Regions from separate parts of the Homo sapiens genome. Here regions 1, 2, 3, 4, 5 and 7 are each linked to region 6. The links are contacts of gene promoters, found by promoter capture Hi-C in blood cells and fetal thymus (Javierre and others, 2016). All regions are on one chromosome and are shown on one strand. The core of a region is centred on a gene start or on the middle of the fragment in contact, and the rest is flanking DNA. Distances in the headings are between cores, read along the strand shown.

The links. Contacts are between HindIII fragments. The CHiCAGO score rates a contact against its expected background, and 5 or more counts as called.
Region 1: a contact is called between a fragment that was not itself captured here and the fragment with the promoter of THOC1 in region 6, in 14 of 17 cell types (M2 macrophages, M1 macrophages, megakaryocytes and 11 more). The highest score is 36.4, in M2 macrophages.
Region 2: a contact is called between a fragment that was not itself captured here and the fragment with the promoter of THOC1 in region 6, in 3 of 17 cell types (total CD4 T cells, M2 macrophages and monocytes). The highest score is 6.6, in total CD4 T cells.
Region 3: a contact is called between a fragment that was not itself captured here and the fragment with the promoter of THOC1 in region 6, in 2 of 17 cell types (naive CD8 T cells and naive CD4 T cells). The highest score is 6.7, in naive CD8 T cells.
Region 4: a fragment that was not itself captured here is called in contact with the fragment with the promoter of THOC1 in region 6 in 2 of 17 cell types (M2 macrophages and M1 macrophages); the score reaches 6.9 in M2 macrophages.
Region 5: a fragment that was not itself captured here is called in contact with the fragment with the promoter of THOC1 in region 6 in 1 of 17 cell types (M2 macrophages); the score reaches 5.5 in M2 macrophages.
Region 7: a contact is called between a fragment that was not itself captured here and the fragment with the promoter of THOC1 in region 6, in 3 of 17 cell types (endothelial precursors, naive CD8 T cells and megakaryocytes). The highest score is 5.4, in endothelial precursors.

What each region holds. Positions count from the first base shown.
Region 1 is chr18:617,282-619,981 of GRCh38, reverse strand. CLUL1 (clusterin like 1) reads right to left here. Exons shown (of 10, transcript NM_001393344.1): 3 at 1,876-1,994; 4 at 621-769. The coding sequence starts at 1,981. Among named protein-coding and RNA genes, the nearest start is that of CLUL1, 22 kb to the right of the region's middle. The HindIII fragment of the contact is 1,675 bases long and covers 477-2,151 here.
Region 2 is chr18:721,316-724,015 of GRCh38, reverse strand. It overlaps YES1 (YES proto-oncogene 1, Src family tyrosine kinase), which reads left to right. Exons shown (of 12, transcript NM_005433.4): 12 at 1-2,428. Among named protein-coding and RNA genes, the nearest start is that of ENOSF1, 10 kb to the right of the region's middle. The HindIII fragment of the contact is 6,786 bases long and covers 1-2,700 here.
Region 3 is chr18:702,433-705,132 of GRCh38, reverse strand. All of the region lies in intron 2 of ENOSF1 (enolase superfamily member 1), which reads left to right. Among named protein-coding and RNA genes, the nearest start is that of ENOSF1, 8.8 kb to the left of the region's middle. The HindIII fragment of the contact is 7,432 bases long and covers 1-2,700 here.
Region 4 is chr18:573,363-576,144 of GRCh38, reverse strand. No RefSeq gene overlaps it. Among named protein-coding and RNA genes, the nearest start is that of CETN1, 5.6 kb to the left of the region's middle. The HindIII fragment of the contact is 5,186 bases long and covers 1-2,782 here.
Region 5 is chr18:677,427-680,129 of GRCh38, reverse strand. It overlaps ENOSF1 (enolase superfamily member 1), which reads left to right. Exons shown (of 16, transcript NM_017512.7): 12 at 1,393-1,434; 13 at 2,258-2,387; 14 at 2,686-2,703. Among named protein-coding and RNA genes, the nearest start is that of TYMSOS, 20 kb to the right of the region's middle. The HindIII fragment of the contact is 7,224 bases long and covers 1-2,703 here.
Region 6 is chr18:266,616-269,315 of GRCh38, reverse strand. THOC1 (THO complex subunit 1) reads left to right here and starts at 1,269. Exons shown (of 21, transcript NM_005131.3): 1 at 1,269-1,350. The coding sequence starts at 1,297. RefSeq lists a silencer at 361-540 and an enhancer at 931-1,400. The HindIII fragment of the contact is 5,170 bases long and covers 1-2,700 here.
Region 7 is chr18:737,569-740,389 of GRCh38, reverse strand. YES1 (YES proto-oncogene 1, Src family tyrosine kinase) reads left to right here. Exons shown (of 12, transcript NM_005433.4): 9 at 579-655. Among named protein-coding and RNA genes, the nearest start is that of ENOSF1, 26 kb to the right of the region's middle. The HindIII fragment of the contact is 1,598 bases long and covers 628-2,225 here.

The DNA.
Region 1 (2,700 bases), core at 65-2,564, 350 kb before region 6:
TTCCAGCACTTTGGGAGGCTGAGGCAGGTGGATCACTTGAGCCCCAGAGTTCGGGACCAGCCTGGCCAGCATGGTGAAACCCCGTCTCTTCTAAAAATACAAAAATTAGCCAGGCGTGGTGGTAGGAGCCTGTAATCCCAGCTACTAGGGAGGCTGAGACAGGAGAATCACCTGAACCCAGGAGGTGGAGGTTGCAATGAGCGGGATCAACTCCAGCCTGGGTGACAGAGCGAGACTCTGTCTCAAAAACAGAAACAAACAAAAAACAAAAAACAAAAACTCTGGAGACCACTGATCTAGTAAAAAAAAAAACTCTTCAAATACTTTTGACTCAATATCCTAACTCAGAAGAGACCAAGAATAATCTATTTTTGAGAAAGCAGCACTTAAACAGAGATGAATCCCCCAGATTCCGGGTTGGAGTCTTGCAGAAGCCTATCCTACACGAAATATGTTCTTCAAGGAAATCTGAAGCTTCCCTTAAACTTTTCCTCAAATAAAAGCAGCTACCCATGAAATTTATTACTAAGGAAAATAAGTAATTCATCAATCGCACTAACAAGTGCAGTATTTCTGGTCCAGATCTGTGTAAGAACAGACATTATTTTCAATGACTGTACCTGCTTTTCTTCTCTGCATTTCTTCAGGGTGCTCATTAGATTGGTGTGTTCCTTCTCTTTTCTTTCCATCATGATTTTCATTTGCTTAATACCAGTCAAAGCCTTCTTCACCTCTTCATCTGCATCTATCTCCCCCACCTCAGAAAAACCTAAAAGACATGTGGCAATTTTTTCTTTGAGATCTGATCAGATTACAAAACACCAAGTTCACCAACCTTTCATGTCTCCAAAAGAGAGGCTTAATTGTTCTCTTATAGGCTCATATTCTGAAAGCAGATCATAATGAATTAGCTGTCAGCTGCCACATGGACCCAGCTGCCACACGGACCATACCTTCTACTCCTCACTTGTGAGCGCCTAAACAAATAGAGTTCACTGAACCTCATTCTTGTCATCTTGCTCAGGCCCTGTTTTCATTTATCCATTTTTTTTCTTTCATTTAAGACTCAAGTGTGTTTATATTAGAGAAAATTTTGCATTTTCTTCATAATTTATATTAAGTGCCCAGCTGGGGACCTCAAACACAGTCAGCAATTTCTCTTTCTTTCAGCTTCAGTTACCTAATAAGGAGGCACGAGACCTAGAAAGTATCCCATGTAATACGAGCTTCCTTAATAACTCAATGGACGTGTCTTATACACCTTTAATAAGCCCTTAGTAAGTTTAAAATTCATTGTCATTCCCTGTTCAAAATAGCCAACGTGGCCTACTGAGGAGCTCATTCTTGACTCTGATTATTACAGACCCCAAATCAGCTGCATTTTAGCTAATTTGTTCTTCTATATATTAAGTACCCAAAGTATATATCACCAAGCAAAGTTGCAAGTTAATGGCCACAGAACAACCAGATTCAACGTAATTATAACCCATTCTTTCACTAGTTTAAGAACAATTGCACAGATTACTCTAATGGTTTAAATTTTTCAAATGCTAGAAAAGTATTTCACTGTTCATTAGAGCTGTGCTGAGATGACACCAACCATCTGGATGATACAAAAAAATGCAGTGAAAAAACTGGCAAGTTGTATCTACATGATACAAACATCTGGAAAGGTGAACGCCTGCAGAGACGTGATTGGAATTTTCTATTTTTACCCAGATGTTTGGCGTCAGGATGACCTGGTTTAAGCGCCTTGAGAACGTTTCACCGTGAAAACAGCGAATATGGTTATCTCTCAACTGCGACTCACTATAAACGCCAGCAGGACAACCAACATGCAAACAGGACACAGCACAGATAAGAAACCAAACGTACTCTTCAGGTTTTCACTGATAGCAGTTTTGTCCTTCCAAGTGGGTGCGCAGTGACTGTCTTTCAACCACAGCAGACACACAATAAACACCAAGAGTGGCGGCTTCATGTTCCCGCTGTTACTGCAAAGGAAAAATAAACCCGCATCAAATGTCTTCCATTTGGTTAGTTTCTGTTGGCATCAATTGAAAACACCTGGGGCTCCAAAGCATTTTTCTGTCAATTTTTCCTTATGACTTTAGACAACTTATGCTAATGTGCCTGAGACATAAGGAAGCTTGAAATGTAAGTTAAAAAAACAAACAAATTCTAGTCCCTATTTGGTTTAAACTCTTCACGACAGTTAAAAAAGCCCGCCATGTGAAGTACTTGAAACTCAATGCAATGGAGAGGATAGATCACATCCTCTCAGAGTCCAAGCTTCATTTTGTAAACATCTCGAAACACAGAATTAATTCGAATCTGTTAGAGGGATTTTTTTCCCTCCAAAATTCTTTTTTTTTTTTTTTTTTTTGAGACGGAGTTTTGCTCTTGTTGCCCAGGCTGGAGTGCAATGGCGTGATCTCGGCCCACCGCAACCTCCACCTCCCAGGTTCAAGTGATTCTCCTGCCTCAGCCTTCCCAAGTAGCTGGGATTATAGGCATGCGCCACCAAGCCCGGTTAATTTTGTATTTTTAGTAGAGATGGAGTTTCTCCATGTGGGTCAGGCTGGTCTCGAACTACTGACCTCAGGTGATCCGCCCCCCTCGGCCTCCCAAAGTGCTGGGATTACAGGCGTGAGCCACCACACCTGGCATTTCCCTCCAAAAGTCTATGTTCTCAAGTGA
Region 2 (2,700 bases), core at 42-2,541, 450 kb before region 6:
AAGGAATATCATGGGACCAAATAATTCCATTCCAGTTTTTTAAAGTTTCTTGCATTTATTATTCTCAAAAGTTTTTTCTAAGTTAAACAGTCAGTATGCAATCTTAATATATGCTTTCTTTTGCATGGACATGGGCCAGGTTTTTCAAAAGGAATATAAACAGGATCTCAAACTTGATTAAATGTTAGACCACAGAAGTGGAATTTGAAAGTATAATGCAGTACATTAATATTCATGTTCATGGAACTGAAAGAATAAGAACTTTTTCACTTCAGTCCTTTTCTGAAGAGTTTGACTTAGAATAATGAAGGTAACTAGAAAGTGAGTTAATCTTGTATGAGGTTGCATTGATTTTTTAAGGCAATATATAATTGAAACTACTGTCCAATCAAAGGGGAAATGTTTTGATCTTTAGATAGCATGCAAAGTAAGACCCAGCATTTTAAAAGCCCTTTTTAAAAACTAGACTTCGTACTGTGAGTATTGCTTATATGTCCTTATGGGGATGGGTGCCACAAATAGAAAATATGACCAGATCAGGGACTTGAATGCACTTTTGCTCATGGTGAATATAGATGAACAGAGAGGAAAATGTATTTAAAAGAAATACGAGAAAAGAAAGTGAAAGTTTTACAAGTTAGAGGGATGGAAGGTAATGTTTAATGTTGATGTCATGGAGTGACAGAATGGCTTTGCTGGCACTCAGAGCTCCTCACTTAGCTATATTCTGAGACTTTGAAGAGTTATAAAGTATAACTATAAAACTAATTTTTCTTACACACTAAATGGGTATTTGTTCAAAATAATGAAGTTATGGCTTCACATTCATTGCAGTGGGATATGGTTTTTATGTAAAACATTTTTAGAACTCCAGTTTTCAAATCATGTTTGAATCTACATTCACTTTTTTTTGTTTTCTTTTTTGAGACGGAGTCTCGCTCTGTCGCCCAGGCTGGAGTGCAGTGGCGCGATCTCGGCTCACTGCAAGCTCTGCCTCCCAGGTTCACACCATTCTCCTGCCTCAGCCTCCCGAGTAGCTGGGACTACAGGTGCCCACCACCACGCCTGGCTAGTTTTTTGTATTTTTAGTAGAGACGCAGTTTCACCGTGTTAGCCAGGATAGTCTCGATCTCCTGACCTTGTGATCTGCCCGCCTCGGCCTCCCAAAGTGCTGGGATTACAGGCGTGAGCCACCGCGCCCAGCCTACATTCACTTCTAAAGTCTATGTAATGGTGGTCATTTTTTCCCTTTTAGAATACATTAAATGGTTGATTTGGGGAGGAAAACTTATTCTGAATATTAACGGTGGTGAAAAGGGGACAGTTTTTACCCTAAAGTGCAAAAGTGAAACATACAAAATAAGACTAATTTTTAAGAGTAACTCAGTAATTTCAAAATACAGATTTGAATAGCAGCATTAGTGGTTTGAGTGTCTAGCAAAGGAAAAATTGATGAATAAAATGAAGGTCTGGTGTATATGTTTTAAAATACTCTCATATAGTCACACTTTAAATTAAGCCTTATATTAGGCCCCTCTATTTTCAGGATATAATTCTTAACTATCATTATTTACCTGATTTTAATCATCAGATTCGAAATTCTGTGCCATGGCATATATGTTCAAATTCAAACCATTTTTAAAATGTGAAGATGGACTTCATGCAAGTTGGCAGTGGTTCTGGTACTAAAAATTGTGGTTGTTTTTTCTGTTTACGTAACCTGCTTAGTATTGACACTCTCTACCAAGAGGGTCTTCCTAAGAAGAGTGCTGTCATTATTTCCTCTTATCAACAACTTGTGACATGAGATTTTTTAAGGGCTTTATGTGAACTATGATATTGTAATTTTTCTAAGCATATTCAAAAGGGTGACAAAATTACGTTTATGTACTAAATCTAATCAGGAAAGTAAGGCAGGAAAAGTTGATGGTATTCATTAGGTTTTAACTGAATGGAGCAGTTCCTTATATAATAACAATTGTATAGTAGGGATAAAACACTAACTTAATGTGTATTCATTTTAAATTGTTCTGTATTTTTAAATTGCCAAGAAAAACAACTTTGTAAATTTGGAGATATTTTCCAACAGCTTTTCGTCTTCAGTGTCTTAATGTGGAAGTTAACCCTTACCAAAAAAGGAAGTTGGCAAAAACAGCCTTCTAGCACACTTTTTTAAATGAATAATGGTAGCCTAAACTTAATATTTTTATAAAGTATTGTAATATTGTTTTGTGGATAATTGAAATAAAAAGTTCTCATTGAATGCACCTATTAATCGTTTTAGTTGCTATTCATATTCTCATTCGTTTTTTAAAAACTGATATATTCTGAATTTATTCTTCCATTGAGAAAAAAATGTTCAGTTACTTGTAACTACTGAGCAGAATTTAATCAATCCTTTATTAAATTCAGAACATTATTGAACTCATTCTTTGTGGTCAATTTTCTTTTTTTTTTGTTTTGTTTTGTTTTTTTTTTGAGACGGAGTCTCGCTCTGTCGCCCAGGCTGGAGTGCAGTGGCGCGATCTTGGCTCACTGCAAGCTCCGCCTCCCGGGGTCACGCCATTCTCCTGCCTCGGCCACCCGAGTAGCTGGGACTACAGGCGCCTGCTACCACGCCCGGCTAATTTTTTGTATTTTTTAGTAGAGACGGGGTTTCACCATGTTAGCCAGGATGGTCTCGATCTCCTGACCTCGTGA
Region 3 (2,700 bases), core at 60-2,559, 440 kb before region 6:
GATTTTAAATTGTTAAGCATATAAAAGAAGTGTGTGAGTTTGTGAGTGTGTGTATGTGCGAATGGCAAGGGAACCTTCCTTGAACTTTCAATGGACACTGCCCAGGTGGCTGCTGTTACTGCTCTTCACAGGGCTGGCGGTCAGTTGTCCAGCAAGTCAGTCCTTCTGCAGACTTCTGAGTGCTGCCATGTATCAGGCACCAAAGTAATTTTAAAAAGAGAAAGATAGGCCAGGCGTGGTGATTCAGGCCTGTAATCCCAGCACTTTGGGAGGCTGAGGCGGGCAGATTGCTTGAGTCAAGCAGTTCAAGACCAGCCTGGTCAACATGGTGAAACCCTGTCTTTACTAAAAATACAAAAATTACCTGGCCGTGGTGATGCATGGCTGTAATCTCAGCTACTCAGGAGGCTGAAGCACGAGAATTGCTTGAACCTGGGAGTTGGAGTTTGCAGTGAGCCGAGATTGCGCCGCTGCACTCCAGCCTGGGTGAAAAAGCGAGACTCCATCCCAAAAAAAAAAAGAAAAAAGATACAGAAGACAGAATCCCACATACAAGGAGCACACGAACTTATTGGGGAAGTAGACATAAAAGAAATGATCATAGTGCAGTCTGAGAATTACTGTTTTTTAAAACTATGTACAAGTTTTACAGAGAGAGGATATATTAGGCTGTTCTTTTTTTTTTTTTTTTTCTTTTCTTTTTGGAAACAAGAGTCTTGCTCTGTTGCCCAGCCTGGAGTGCAGTGGCGCAATCTCGCTCACTACAACCTCCACCTCCCGGGTTCAAGCAATTCTTATGCCTCAGCCTCCCGAGTAGCTGGGATTACAGGCACACACCACCACGCCCGGCTAGTTTTTATATTTTTAGTAAAGATGAGGTTTCACCATGTTTGGTCAGGCCGGTCTCCTGACTTCAAATGATCTGCCCACCTTGGCCTCTCAAAGTGCTAAGATTATAGGCATGAACCACCACTCTGAGCCAGGCTATTTTTGCATTGCTATAAAGGAGTACGAGAGACTGGATAATTTATAAAGAAAAAGAGGTTTAATTGCCTCATGGTTCTGCAGGTTTTACAGAAAGCATGATGCCAGCTACTCAGCTTCTAGGGAGGCTTCAGGACACTTACAATCATGGTAGAAGGTGAAGGGGGAGCAGGCACGTCCTATGTCGAAAGGATCAAGAGAAAGGGAATGGGGAGGTGCTACACACTTTTAAGTCACCAGATCTCACGAGAACTCACTCACTATCTCAAAGACAGTACCAATGGGATAGTGCTAAACCATTCAGGAGAAATCCACCTCCAAGATCTAATAATCACCTCCCACCAGGCCCCACCTCCAACACTGCGGATTACACTTCAACATGAAATTTGTGCAGAATGTCTAAACCATCTCAGGGGGTAACTTCACTCTGTCCAAAAGGCTCAGGGAAGGCTTCAGAGCAGAAGTAATGCTTTGAGGTGAGTCTCGAAGAGCAAACAGGAATTTGCCAGGCAGAGAAAGACCATGCTGTGAGTCAGTCCCGCTTTTCTCCATTAAGTAAACAATTTACTGTTAAAGTTTTCCCCAGAGTAGTAACCACTTACTAAGACAGAGCTGTGAGCTGTTTCTGCTTCTTCTGCAACTCTAATTGTCCCTTGTTTGTAAGTTGAGTACTTTATGAAGCCGCTGCCTTTCTCCATACTGCAAACCCTACAGCACAGCCCCCAAAGGTTGCATAAAACTCAGCGAGCTTACAAGATAATGTTAGGCCATTGGACCCACTCTCTGTTAACAGCCCAGACTTTAAACTTTGCTGACTTGGGCACACGTGGAGGGGCCCTGGGCACTAAGATAGATAAGAAGCCCTTCTGGGATGGGTGCTGAGCTCAGTGTTTAGGGCCTTCACTTCCCCTCTCCTCCTCCATTCCCAGCCCCACACCGCTGTCTTGGTGGATGTCTCAGGCACGGATAAATCAACTTCCATCTCTCCATGACTTTAATTAATGACTCTTTTGTGCTAAGGGTTTTGGCTTCCTCCTTTTTCAGACCACAACATGACAGAACCCATTTTAACTTTAACCTTGCTACATATTTCAGGTGACTCACTGCAGTCTCACTAAATGTGTTACACAGCACTCACACTAAAGATGAAAAATTCCATTAGCTCATCCTGGTTCTTCTGCTTACTTACCTAATCATCTGTTTATGATTTAAAAAAATAGGGTTACTGTGAAGAGAGTGCTTGTGTGTGAGACAGAGAGGGAGGGTTGTTTTTCAAATGTATAGAATATACCAATGTAGTTTTTGGTTGGGTATTTTTTTAAATCATGACTTTATTAAATTTACTTAATTAATATTCATTTTTATCCTTTTTTTATGTTTTTAAAGTTTTTATTATTTATTAATTTATTTGAGATAAGGTCTTGCTCTGTCACCCAGGCTGGAGTGCAGTGGTGCAATCACGGCTCATACAGCCTTGACCTTCCAGACTCAAATGATTGTCCCACCTCACCTTCCCGAGTAGCTGGGCCCACAGGCACAAGCCACCATGCCTAGCTAATGTTTCTTTTTTTTGAGAGACAGAGTCTCGCTCTGTTGCCCAGGCTGGAGTGGAGTGGCACATTCTTGGCTCACTGCAGCCTCCACCTCCAAGGTTCAAACGATTCTCCTGCCTCAGTTTCCCAAGTAGCTGGGACTACAGATGTGTGCCACCATGCC
Region 4 (2,782 bases), core at 26-2,525, 310 kb before region 6:
CCGGCCGCTTATTTCCTTCTTACTGTGCATGTGCTAAAAATAGAGGGGAGGTGGAGCCCCCAGGGTGGACATTCCTGGCCCCAGGTACCTCTTTCTAACTGTGCAGCTTCTGGCATCCCCTCGTGCAAGTTTCCAGCTTCCTTATCTATGTTTGCAGCCCGATCTCCCAGGCTGCTCTTTGTTAGAAAAGAAGGGATTTCTTGGGCTGTTCTTTGTTAGCAGGGAAGTTCTGCCGAGGACTCTTTTGCCCTCATTATCTGCTTAAAATAATTTCTGTCTCCAGTATCACTTGCCTTATGTTCCTGCTCTAAAGCGTTTTAATAAACGCTCTGAAACTTGCCTCAGTCTCTTTTTCTGCCGTATGACCCTGAGTTGAATTCTTTCTTCTGAGGATGTAGGAATTGAGGTTGCTGCAGACCCATACGGATTCTATTAAGGTAACTTGGATATTCGCTACTAGTGATACATTTTGGTGCCACGTGACTCGGATACCTTCTGCTGCTAACAATTTTCTTCCCTACACATAACAATAATTAAGCATCTTGCCTAGAAGGATTGAACAGGAATTTGTAGGATCTAAGACAGGGTCCCATTCTGGGGCGAGTCACTGAACCTGCAATATGCTTAGTATTTACATCTGTTCTTCCTCCATTCCACTTCACCCCATTCCCTGCTTTCAACTCTGTATATGAGCTGGGGAAAGCAATCTGGGCAAAATGCCTTTGCTTGGCATTAGTGAAAGTCTATACAAGGCATGTGAAAATCAGCTTTATTACTTTAAAAGTAATTTTTAAGTTCTAGTGAGACTGACATAAAATAAACGAGACATCCTAGAAAATCAGTGGAGATGGGCGGGTTTCTGTTTGTTTTTGGGTTTTTGGGGGGCCCTCAATTTTTTTTTTTTTTTGTACCACAATGTCCTAAGTATTATGCAAAATCAGTGATTGATTCTCTGAGAGGGGGAGAGGAGATGGTTGTTTAAGTCCAGTCATGGAGACTTAACAGCTGGAAGAGGGGAGAAAAGAAGCACTGGAATTCCACAACAGGGTCTGGAGTCCGTTGAGACCAAGAGAAAGGACTCACAGCTTGCTTATGCTGATTATTTGGTTTTCCATTTGACTTGCATGGCATGAAAAAGGTGCGGCTCAGGAGCCTTTTAAAGTTGCACTCAGCAAATTCAGCAAATTCCAGGTGCCACCCAAGGCAGAAAACATGCACAATACAGCTTCTTTACTGCTGCTTATTTACTTTCCAACAAATGCAGAACAGAGAAAATGTGAATGCTGGGTGCTGCTCCTACAAACCAGGATAACTGTGCTGGGGCTGTAGAGGGGGATCCCAAAACCATCACTAACAGAGCTGAATTATTTATTCTTAAATATGTGGAGCCAGTTACAAGAAATGGACTCAGCAGCAAAAGGTTTTACAGTCCCAGTGGTCTCTGAATGGGAATTTGAAGTCAAGTCCAGTGACTCAACCCAAGTCTTTTTGGCAAGTCCAGGAACACATTTAAGTGTCCAGCCAAGGGCTACATGATTCCTTATTCCATGAACACCCGAAATAAGAAAATACTCCTCTCAGATACAAAAGCAGACTTTTCTAAAAAGATTTGCCAGAATTTCACACGGTTTCTCAAACTTTCACCCAAATATTCCTAATAGCAAAGGAGAGTTGAAAGCTATCCCCTGAGATACAGGGAACTATTTGAAAGAAACCTGCAAAAAGCATCAAATGTCTTTATAATCCTGTGTTTCAGCTTTTTAAAAAGTGAATGTTGCTTTCTGTTTCATAGTGCATTTGCTGGTTCTATGATAGTTTTAAATGACTGACCATTCCAAAAAAGTACACATTGCTTATTTTATGACTTTAAATGGTCTCCAAGGACATGACCGGGGTTGCAGAACCTTATATGTTTTAGCAAACACGGATGTGGGATTTAATGTGGGGCTTGAGGTGAATAAAATAAAGATCTACAATGTTTCTCACCCCTACCCAACCCCTATCTGCTCCACTTATACCCCATTTGGGTTTGGGAGTCAAAGAAGGGAAAGGATGGAAAAGTGTGAGGAGGAAGGGAAGGAAGAATGAAACTCCAGGGCATTTTGAACTTGTTAGGTGGAGTAAAATTAAATGCATCCAGTGAAAGAATGACTGCCCTCTCCCCTTCTTTCCCAGATCCCAGATCAGCCCCCAATTAAGCATTGCTTTGATGGAAACAGGCTGAGAAAAGACAAGATCTATGTTGACATAAACTCCAAGCAGAACCTCATGGGGTTTGCAATTCGGCAGTTGTCCCACCCTGTAAGTGGTCTTCAGAGCGCCCACCAGGTGCAGGCATCCACAGAAAATGCAGAACCAGGAGGCCCAGGAGTGGCTTCATTGGATTTTTAAATCTCATTTTAAACCAATAGCTCATAGACTGAGCTATTGGTTACTCTTTGATCCACCTTTTCTTCTCCAAGGGCCCTGGAACGTCAGGATCTAAAGCTGGCTCTGAGGCTGTTAACTGAGAATTTTTCACTCACCAGAGGTTGAAAGGTCAGAAGCCCACAGTGGTGTTAGGTAACACAGAATAAGCCAAATGGGCTGCCTGTGAAGGGTGGATTTAGGGATTAACAGTGACCTGGAGAGTTTGTGCCCTTTTTAAAGACACTGACATTCAAATTTTAAAAAAAAGAAAGAAAGAAAGGAAAAAAAGAAAACTGTGCAGTTCCAAGAACACAGGTGAAGCAGAACTTGGCCTATAGGGTGCACATTATCCACCCAGCCCTTGCAGTGGCCA
Region 5 (2,703 bases), core at 37-2,536, 410 kb before region 6:
CTGAGAAGTTGGCTTAGTCTGATTATTCAGATGCCTCCTCTGGCTCTGGAATCAGTGGAGTTCCAACCCAGTCTCTACCACTTTCTAGCTTTGTGATCCAGGAACAGTTCAAACCCGGCACACAGTTTTATCATTTTTTATAAAATGGGGATAACGCTGGCTCCTCTCCCATTGGATTGAGACCAGGAATCATTTAAGTCAGTGTTTTGCACAGCACCTGACAGGTACTCAGAGCTCCAAAAATGTTAGCTGTCAGTGTGATTACTATTACCCTAAGCAAAGGGAAGGGAAGCCAGGGAGGAACCAAGGCTACCTGTGCGGAGTAGCTGTGGAGTCGCAGTCACAGTAGAGGATGGATGGGAGCGCCCAGAGTCCAGGTGGCAGGTGACGGAGGTAGTGTTCAGGGGCCAGGTGAGAGGACAGAGAGCAGCAGGGCTGTGTTCAGGTGCAGAGTCCAGTACCTCACCAGGTGAGGACTCTACCAGGTGAGCAATGGTCTCAGCCTAACCTGCAGATTGAGGTCTGAGGCCACCCACTGAGCTGGAAGGAAGAGGATTTTTTTTTTTTTCATGGATTTTTCCTGCCTTAAGGAAGAGGATTTTGGAATCAACAAAGACATGAGGCCAGGTGCAGTGGCTCACACCTGTAATCCCAACACTTTGGGAGGCCGAGGCGGGAGGATCATCTGAGGTCAGGAGTTTGAGACCAGCCTGGCCAACATGGCAAAACCCTGACTCTATTAAAAATACAAAAATTAGCCAGCATGGTGGCGTGCACCTCTAATCCCAGCTACTCAGGAGGCTGAGGCACGAGAATCGCTTCAGCCTGGGGGGTGGAGGTTGCGGTGAGCTAAGATCATGCCACTGCACTCCAGCTTGGGTGACAGAGCAAGACTCGGTCTCAAAAAAAAAAAAAAAAAAAGATATGAGAGGGTTCTAGAAGGAGGTTTCTCAGGGAGGCAAGAAGAAGGGAATTGATGGAGTGATGACCCACAGGAAGGAGTCGTCCAAAGGTTGGACCCTGTGAGTCCACAATGAGCCACTCCGAATAGCCCTGTCCTTATGCCACTGCGCAGGCTGGAGAGGGAGGTGCTGTCCACGTTGGGAGGAGCGCAGCTGGAGCATGGGCCGGGACACCGCAGAAGGAGATCTGCAGAGCCCTGGTCAGGAACGGGGCTGGTGGTGGCAGCTCAGCAGTGCTCACCTTCTCCTCTGCAGATACACAGAGCCCTCCCGCACGCATGTGTTCCCCTGGACATCCTTTGCCAGTCTTGAGCCTTCACATGGCTTAACAGCAGGGCCGTTTCCTCCTTCAGCTATAAATGTTTTTAAACATTAGGAGTTGCAGTTCAAAACTTAGGAAAATAACACCAGGCTGCCTTCTATTTTATAGGCACTGGTCCCATTAGGAATTGGCATTGCCACAGGAGAACAGGTGAGTGACGCCCCCAACAGGTGGATGACGTCCCCTTGGGGTCAGTACACGCTGACCAGTGACCGAGGACACAGTTGTGTGTTAGGCTCCATCACCTGCTGTACTTTGAGTTGGGAAATTTTCATCATCTTAGAAACTGGGTCATTTTATCAGAGTCTAGAGTCAGATATAGAAAAAGTTTGTGGCTATTTCTCCAATTTATATGACTAAGGTCGGGTATCTTTTTCAAAGTGTCTAATTGAAATTGAAAAGGCAGCAATTTAAAGTTGCTATTGCAAGGGCAGAAAATGGTCTTAAGAAAGCCAGCTTTCAAATTGAATAAACATGACTGCGTTCACTTTTTGAGCTTATAAATGAAGCCCGAGTGCCTGCCAAAACCTGCTGCAGTCAGCCCACGAGCAGAGCAGCGTGAGGAGCTGATTCTCAGTTTTCCCGGCAAAAGGAGCAATACTGCTCTGCCGTGGTTCCGTGTTGTCATCTGTGCCACCTGCTCATCACTGTCACCGTATTTCATCCTGATGCTTCATCTCCCACTTATCAGTCGCTGTGACAGTCATTCCCTCATAAATGGCGAGCCAGTGTGATTTTGACCTGACTCACACTGTTGCATTAGCAGATTTGTAAAGAAGTGAGCACAAGGTCCCTGCCCACGCTATAAAAGCTCGCCTCATGCCCAGCGAGAACAAAGAAGAAATACAGTCTGGGCTTCCTGACGGCCACTGATGAATAATTATTGGCATAGAGTGGCTGCGTTGCCAGGTTTAGAGATCCTGAAGGCCAAGGCTGACTCTTCTGTTGGTGTTATTTTCAATTCTATTTCCAGTGCCACAATAGAGTGATATTTAAGCAACTCCTACAGGCGAAGGCCCTGCAGTTCCTCCAGATTGACAGTTGCAGACTGGGCAGTGTCAATGAGAACCTCTCAGTATTGCTGATGGCCAAAAAGTTTGAAAGTAAGCGTGCTGCAGCGGCTGCAGACCAGACCTTCATTTCCCCACTAATCAGACACCTCCCTTGATGGTTTGCAATTCACATGCATGGGAGTCTGTAGTTTGCCATTTCGATTTTTTTCTAACTCTCATTTAGCTTTAATCCGGGAATTTTTGATGATTTTCATCTTGGAATTTCCTTCCTAAATATTAATAAATGATTTAATCACCTGTGGGCAATAAGAAAAACCAGAAAGTTCCCTTTCACCCCTTCCTCTCCCTGCCCTACTCTTGGTATTAAATAGAAACGATTTCCTTTTAGTTCCTGTTTGCCCCCATG
Region 6 (2,700 bases), core at 20-2,519:
AAACCATTCTCCTGCCTCGGCCTCCTGAGTAGCTGGGATTACAGGTGCGTGCCACCACGCCCGGCTAATTTTTGTATTTTTAGTAGAGACAGCGTTTCACCATGTTTGCCATACCTCAGGTGATCCACTCCTGACCTCAGGTGACCCACCTGCTTCGGCGTCCCAAAGTGCTGGGATTACAGGCGTAAGCCACCGCGCCTGGCCTCTATTTTAACTTTATGGCCAGTCAGCTATCTCCTCTAAATCACAAAAGGGAGAGGGTATAACCAGGTCCGTCTGACCTCCCATCCCGTTATGACTGGGAACTCAGTTGTTAAGATTTTGCTGGTGTCCCCTTGGCCTCACGGGGGTCTGTTCAGTTGTTGGGGGGCTTAGGATTTTAAATTTACAGACTTCGAAGAAGGGAACAAGATACACGTGTGAGGGAATAAGAGGAAGTTACCCGAGTCTGAGTCAGTGCTTCCTTCTCCACCGTGTAACTCCAACTTAGAGTTACTGCCACTCGGCTTCTATCGGCCACGTCTCTCCTGGGAAGGCAGGCAAGGGACGAAATGGAGGGAGACAAGGTTTTCGCTAGGGAAGCCTCGGCCCAGGACGCAGCGCCACCCGTTTTCCAATCAGCGCCGGGCACTGCATTCCTCCTAGGTCTCTTTCTTTCAGTAGAGACCTTTTAATAATAAATACTACTTACATTGCTTTACAGTTCACACTTGCGGTCATTATTTCAGTGGAGCTTTTCAACAGCTCTGTGAGACAGGTATTATTTCTATTTCGGAGCAGAGAGAACAGCGCCCTTGAGCCACAGGGCTCATACATCCGGAGCCTATCACCACTCCGCATCTTAAGCTCCCGGGATGACCGCGGACTGGCGGCCCAGGACCACTGCTCCAGCTGTTTCCCCAGGTAATCCACCTGCCTTGGGTTACCTTTTAGCGCGGCCCAGTTAGCCGCAACCAGCCACCATTTACCCGCTTTCCCCAAACCAGGAAAACCACAGAAACGCATGTGCGCGGCCAGTCTCTTCCACGCCCGGGAACGCAGAGCTTACAGACCAAGGCCGCCCAAGTCCCCTCACCCCAAAGGCTACCCAAGAACCCCGAGTAGGCTGTTTGGCTGACTCAGGCGCCCAACGCCCACCCGAACTGAGTCGCTAGGGAAACTCCCAACTGCCAGCTCGCCCGACCGGTGTTCACAGGCCACTCTAGCCGGGCTCAGAGAGACCGCAGTCTCGTTGCTCCTGGCTTGACGTCATCGGCAGGCGCCGCAGCGCAGTGGCGGGCACGCGCAGCCGAGAAGATGTCTCCGACGCCGCCGCTCTTCAGTTTGCCCGAAGCGCGGACGCGGTTTACGGTGAGCTGTAGAGGGGAGGGTGCAGGCCTGACCCGGCGCTATGCTTTGTCCTCTTCTCCCTGAAATTACTCGAATTTTGCCCTGGGGTAAAGTGAGACAGAGGTGTGTCCGCCTCAGCGTCCGCTCCGGGCCCCGTCGGAGGTTGAGGGGTAGGGAAAGACGCACTACCCGCCTCTTCTTTGTGGGCTGGGCCGTCCGCCTCCGCCCACCCTCCAGCGGGTCCCCGGACTGCGTGCTGGGCGCCTCGGCTCCCCGCTTGGAGTGCCCACCTGCAGACTACTGCTGGTTGGGTCCATCCTCTCAGCTCGTTTAGTGGGGCAGGTGTCTCGAGAAGGGGAAGGGGAGCTGCTGAAGGGGGAGGGTGGGAGTGGTTTCAGTCCAAAGACCTGGCTCCCGCCCTAGCCTTCTGAGCTACCAAGTGCTTGTTCCCGCCGTCTCTTCACCACCCCTTAACCCACCGTGTCTAACTCCTAAGCGATCGATGAGATCCTAAGCGGGAAAAGGCAGATAGATCACCTTGGGAAGGGTAACCAGATGCTATTTTATTCTTGCTCAATGTGGAAGGGTGGTTTTGAGCATTTGGGAAACACTTGACAGATCACTTTCTCATTTAACTATTAGAGTAACACTGTGAAGTAGGCTAAGTTGGTTATTCCTGGTACATGAGGTAGAAGCTGACACCCCCCAAAAAGTTGTGACTTCAGTGGTTTTTCTGACTTTAGACACTCTGTTCTTTTTATGTTGCTCGTCACAGCAACGTAAGTATGAAGAACACTTTTAAGTTGCCTGACTCTATTCGTCTCTAGCATTTGCACCAACATTTCTCAGATATTCGGCTGTGTTTTGGTAGTTATAGGGATGCCAGGATGAAAATTGTGTGAAAGAAAAATTCATCCTTTGTAGTAAGTAGTTTTCTTGTTTGCAGGGTTATATATATATATATATACATATATATACGTATACGTATAATATATATATACACACACACACAGTGTGAGGTTTTTTTTAAATGGATTATATTTTGTGTATGTCATCATAATCATTTTCTTTGTGTGCGTTTTGCTGCAATCTCTGGTGCTTTGAAAGCCTGCTAAGAGTAACTGTTAGGACTATCCAAGATCATATTGGCGGCCGGGCGCAGTGGCTCACGCCTGTAAATGCAGTACTTCGGGAGGCCGAGGCGGGCGGATCACCTGAGGTCAAGAGTTCAAGGCCAGCCTGGCCAACATGGCAAAGCCCCGTCTCTACTAAAAATACGAAAATTAGCCAGGCGTGGTGGTGGGCGCTGTAATCCCATCTACTTGGGAGGCTGAGGCAGGAGAATCGCTTGAACCCGGACAGCGGAGGTTG
Region 7 (2,821 bases), core at 177-2,676, 470 kb before region 6:
AGACCACTTTTATGTTTTAAATGTGCCTTAATTTGGTTTTGTGTGATGTTTTCTCTTGATTATAAGCCTTAACAAATAATAGTGAAGCCGTAATCAGACTTCTAGCCTTTTTCTTTGCTGTTATTCATAGTACTTTGTAGTTTTCAGAGAGAGAGCTTGGTCACAGCAGTAGTTCCACAGCGACTCATTTAGCTACCTATATTTAGTTTTAACCACACCCAAGATATTCCTAGTTGTCTGAATTCTTGATTCAGATTTACTTAAAAATATGTAAGTATTTAATACTACTTTTTGAATCAGAATTGGGATATTGATCAAAGCGAGGAAAAAATGCCTCTTGTCAGGTAAAGTTAATGCATTTTCTTTTTTTGCATGTGTTATCAGAAGTTTTCAAAATTTCAGCTTAGAGACCTCTTCTAGGACCTAGATAATTATTTGGAAACTGCAAAACTGCACAAAATTTAAAAAAAATGAAAAGCTAAGAAGTTTTGTGTTGTGATTTGGGGTGGAGGAGTATTCATTTCAATCCTAATATAAGATTTGCTTATTTTTTATGAATATCTTGCTGTCTGTTACAGGAAGCTTATTAGATTTCCTTAAGGAAGGAGATGGAAAGTATTTGAAGCTTCCACAGCTGGTTGATATGGCTGCTCAGGTATCTGTATATATACATGTATCCATTTGAATTAAAAGTGTAAATTAAAATGTGGAATAATCTTACCAGAATATTATAGTATGTGTAGTGAAATGGTGGGATTTTATTTTTATTTTTTATTTTTTAGAGACAGCGTCTCATTCTGTCACCCAGGGTGGAATGCAGTGGTGCACTGATAGCTCCGTGCTTGAAGAGCCTTGAATTCTTGGGCTCTAGCAATCCTCTCGCCTCAGCCTCCTGGGTAGCTAGGACTGCAGGCACAGGCCACCATTCCCAGCTAATTTAAAAAATTATTTTTTTTGTAGACACAGGGATCTCTCTGTGTTGCTTAGGCTAGTCTCAAAGTCCTTGGCTCAAAGGATCCTCCCACCTCAGCCTCCCAAAGTATTGGGATTACCTGGCCAATAATGGAATTTTAGAACTGGCAGGAACGTCAGAGATAATCCAATGTGAGCTCTTAATGATACAGATTAATGAAGTATCAAAAGATGAGAGGTATCTAAAATTCACAAAACTTGTTAGTAACAGAACGAGTATTAGAACCAGCTATCTAACTCTTAGTCCAGTGGTGTCCTGTATCATACGGTTTCTTAGAAAATAGATGTTTCCAGGCCAGGTGCGGTGGCTCACGCTTGTAATCTGAGCACTTTGAGAGGCCGAGGTGGGTGGGTCACTTGAGGTCAGGAGTTCGAGACCAGCCTGGCCAACATGGTGAAACTCTGTCTCTACTAAAAATACTGAAAATTAGCCAGGCGTGGTGGCGGGCGCCTGTAATCCCAGCTACTCAGGAGGCTGAGGCAGGAGAATCGCTTGAACCCGGGAGGCGGAGGTTGGAGTGAGCCAAGATCTCGCCATTGCACTCCAGCCTGAGCAACAAGAGCGAGACTCCATCTCAAGAAAATAGATGTTTCCACAAATGTAAAGTCTATATGTATTTATATTTCAACAGATAATTTTAAGAAAATTAAAATGGATGAGGGCTGTTCCAAAGAAAATATTAGTAATCTAAAGTGTATGCTGAATTTTTTTTTTTTTTTTTTTTTTGAGATGGGAGTCTCGCTCTGTCACCCAGGCTGGAATGCAGTGGTGCAATCTCGGCTCACTGCAAGCTCCATCTCCCAGGTTCACACAATTCTCCCGCCTCAGCCTCCCGAGTAACTGGGACTACAGGCGCCCACCACCACCCCCAGCCAATCTTTTGTATTTTTAGTAGGGACGGGGTTTCACCGTGTTCGCCAGGATGGTCTTGATCTCCTGACCTCGTGATCTGCCCGCCTCGGCCTCCCAAAGTGCTGGGATTACAGGCGTGAGCCACTGCACCTGGCCTGAATTTGTTATTTACTATAGTCCAACACAAGAATTAAGATGGTATATATACAGTTTAAAATGGGACTTTTTTACTCTTCTGACTTTTTGTTTTAAATATATAGTGAAAACTGTTAAAAGTTTCTCTTCAGATATGTGGTAGGTATTTGAGAGGCCTTATTATTGGCTTTGGTTGACATGCTGGTTTTGGAATCTTACCTCCTAGCCTCCAAATGTCCACAGAATCTGACAATTCAGAAAAGCTTTATACTGAGAAACTATACATAGGCAACAGGCATATGCCACGCCAGTTCATGCTTCTGAGTTAGACACTCTATGGTAGGGGAGGTTGGCAATCCATTTTTGTTTTTTAAAAAAAAAAAAAAATTAGGTTTTGTGAGCCACATCCAATCTGTCATACTTTTTTCTTTTTACAACCCTTTAAAAATGTAAAAACCAGGCTGTGCGAGATGGCTCCTATAATCTCGCTTTGCGGGGCCTGGGCAACATAGTGAAACCCCATCTCTACAAAAAAATACAAACATTAGCTGGGTGTGGTGTCGCATGCCTAAGTCCCAGCTACTCACTAGGCTGAGGTGGGAAAATTGCTTGAGCCCAGAAGATAGAGATTGCAGTGAGCCACGATTGCACCACTGCACGCCAACCTGCGTGACAGAGTGAGACCCCGTCTCAGTCAATCAATCAAAATGTAAAAAACAGTTTTAGTTCTCTGGCTGTGCAAAAACAGGCTGCAGGCCACTTTTGGCCTACAAGCTGTAGTTTGGGAACCTATACCTTGTGGTTAATACCTTTATCACCATGTCATCTTAGGTTGTGCCTGATAGAGACCTTGATGAGCTT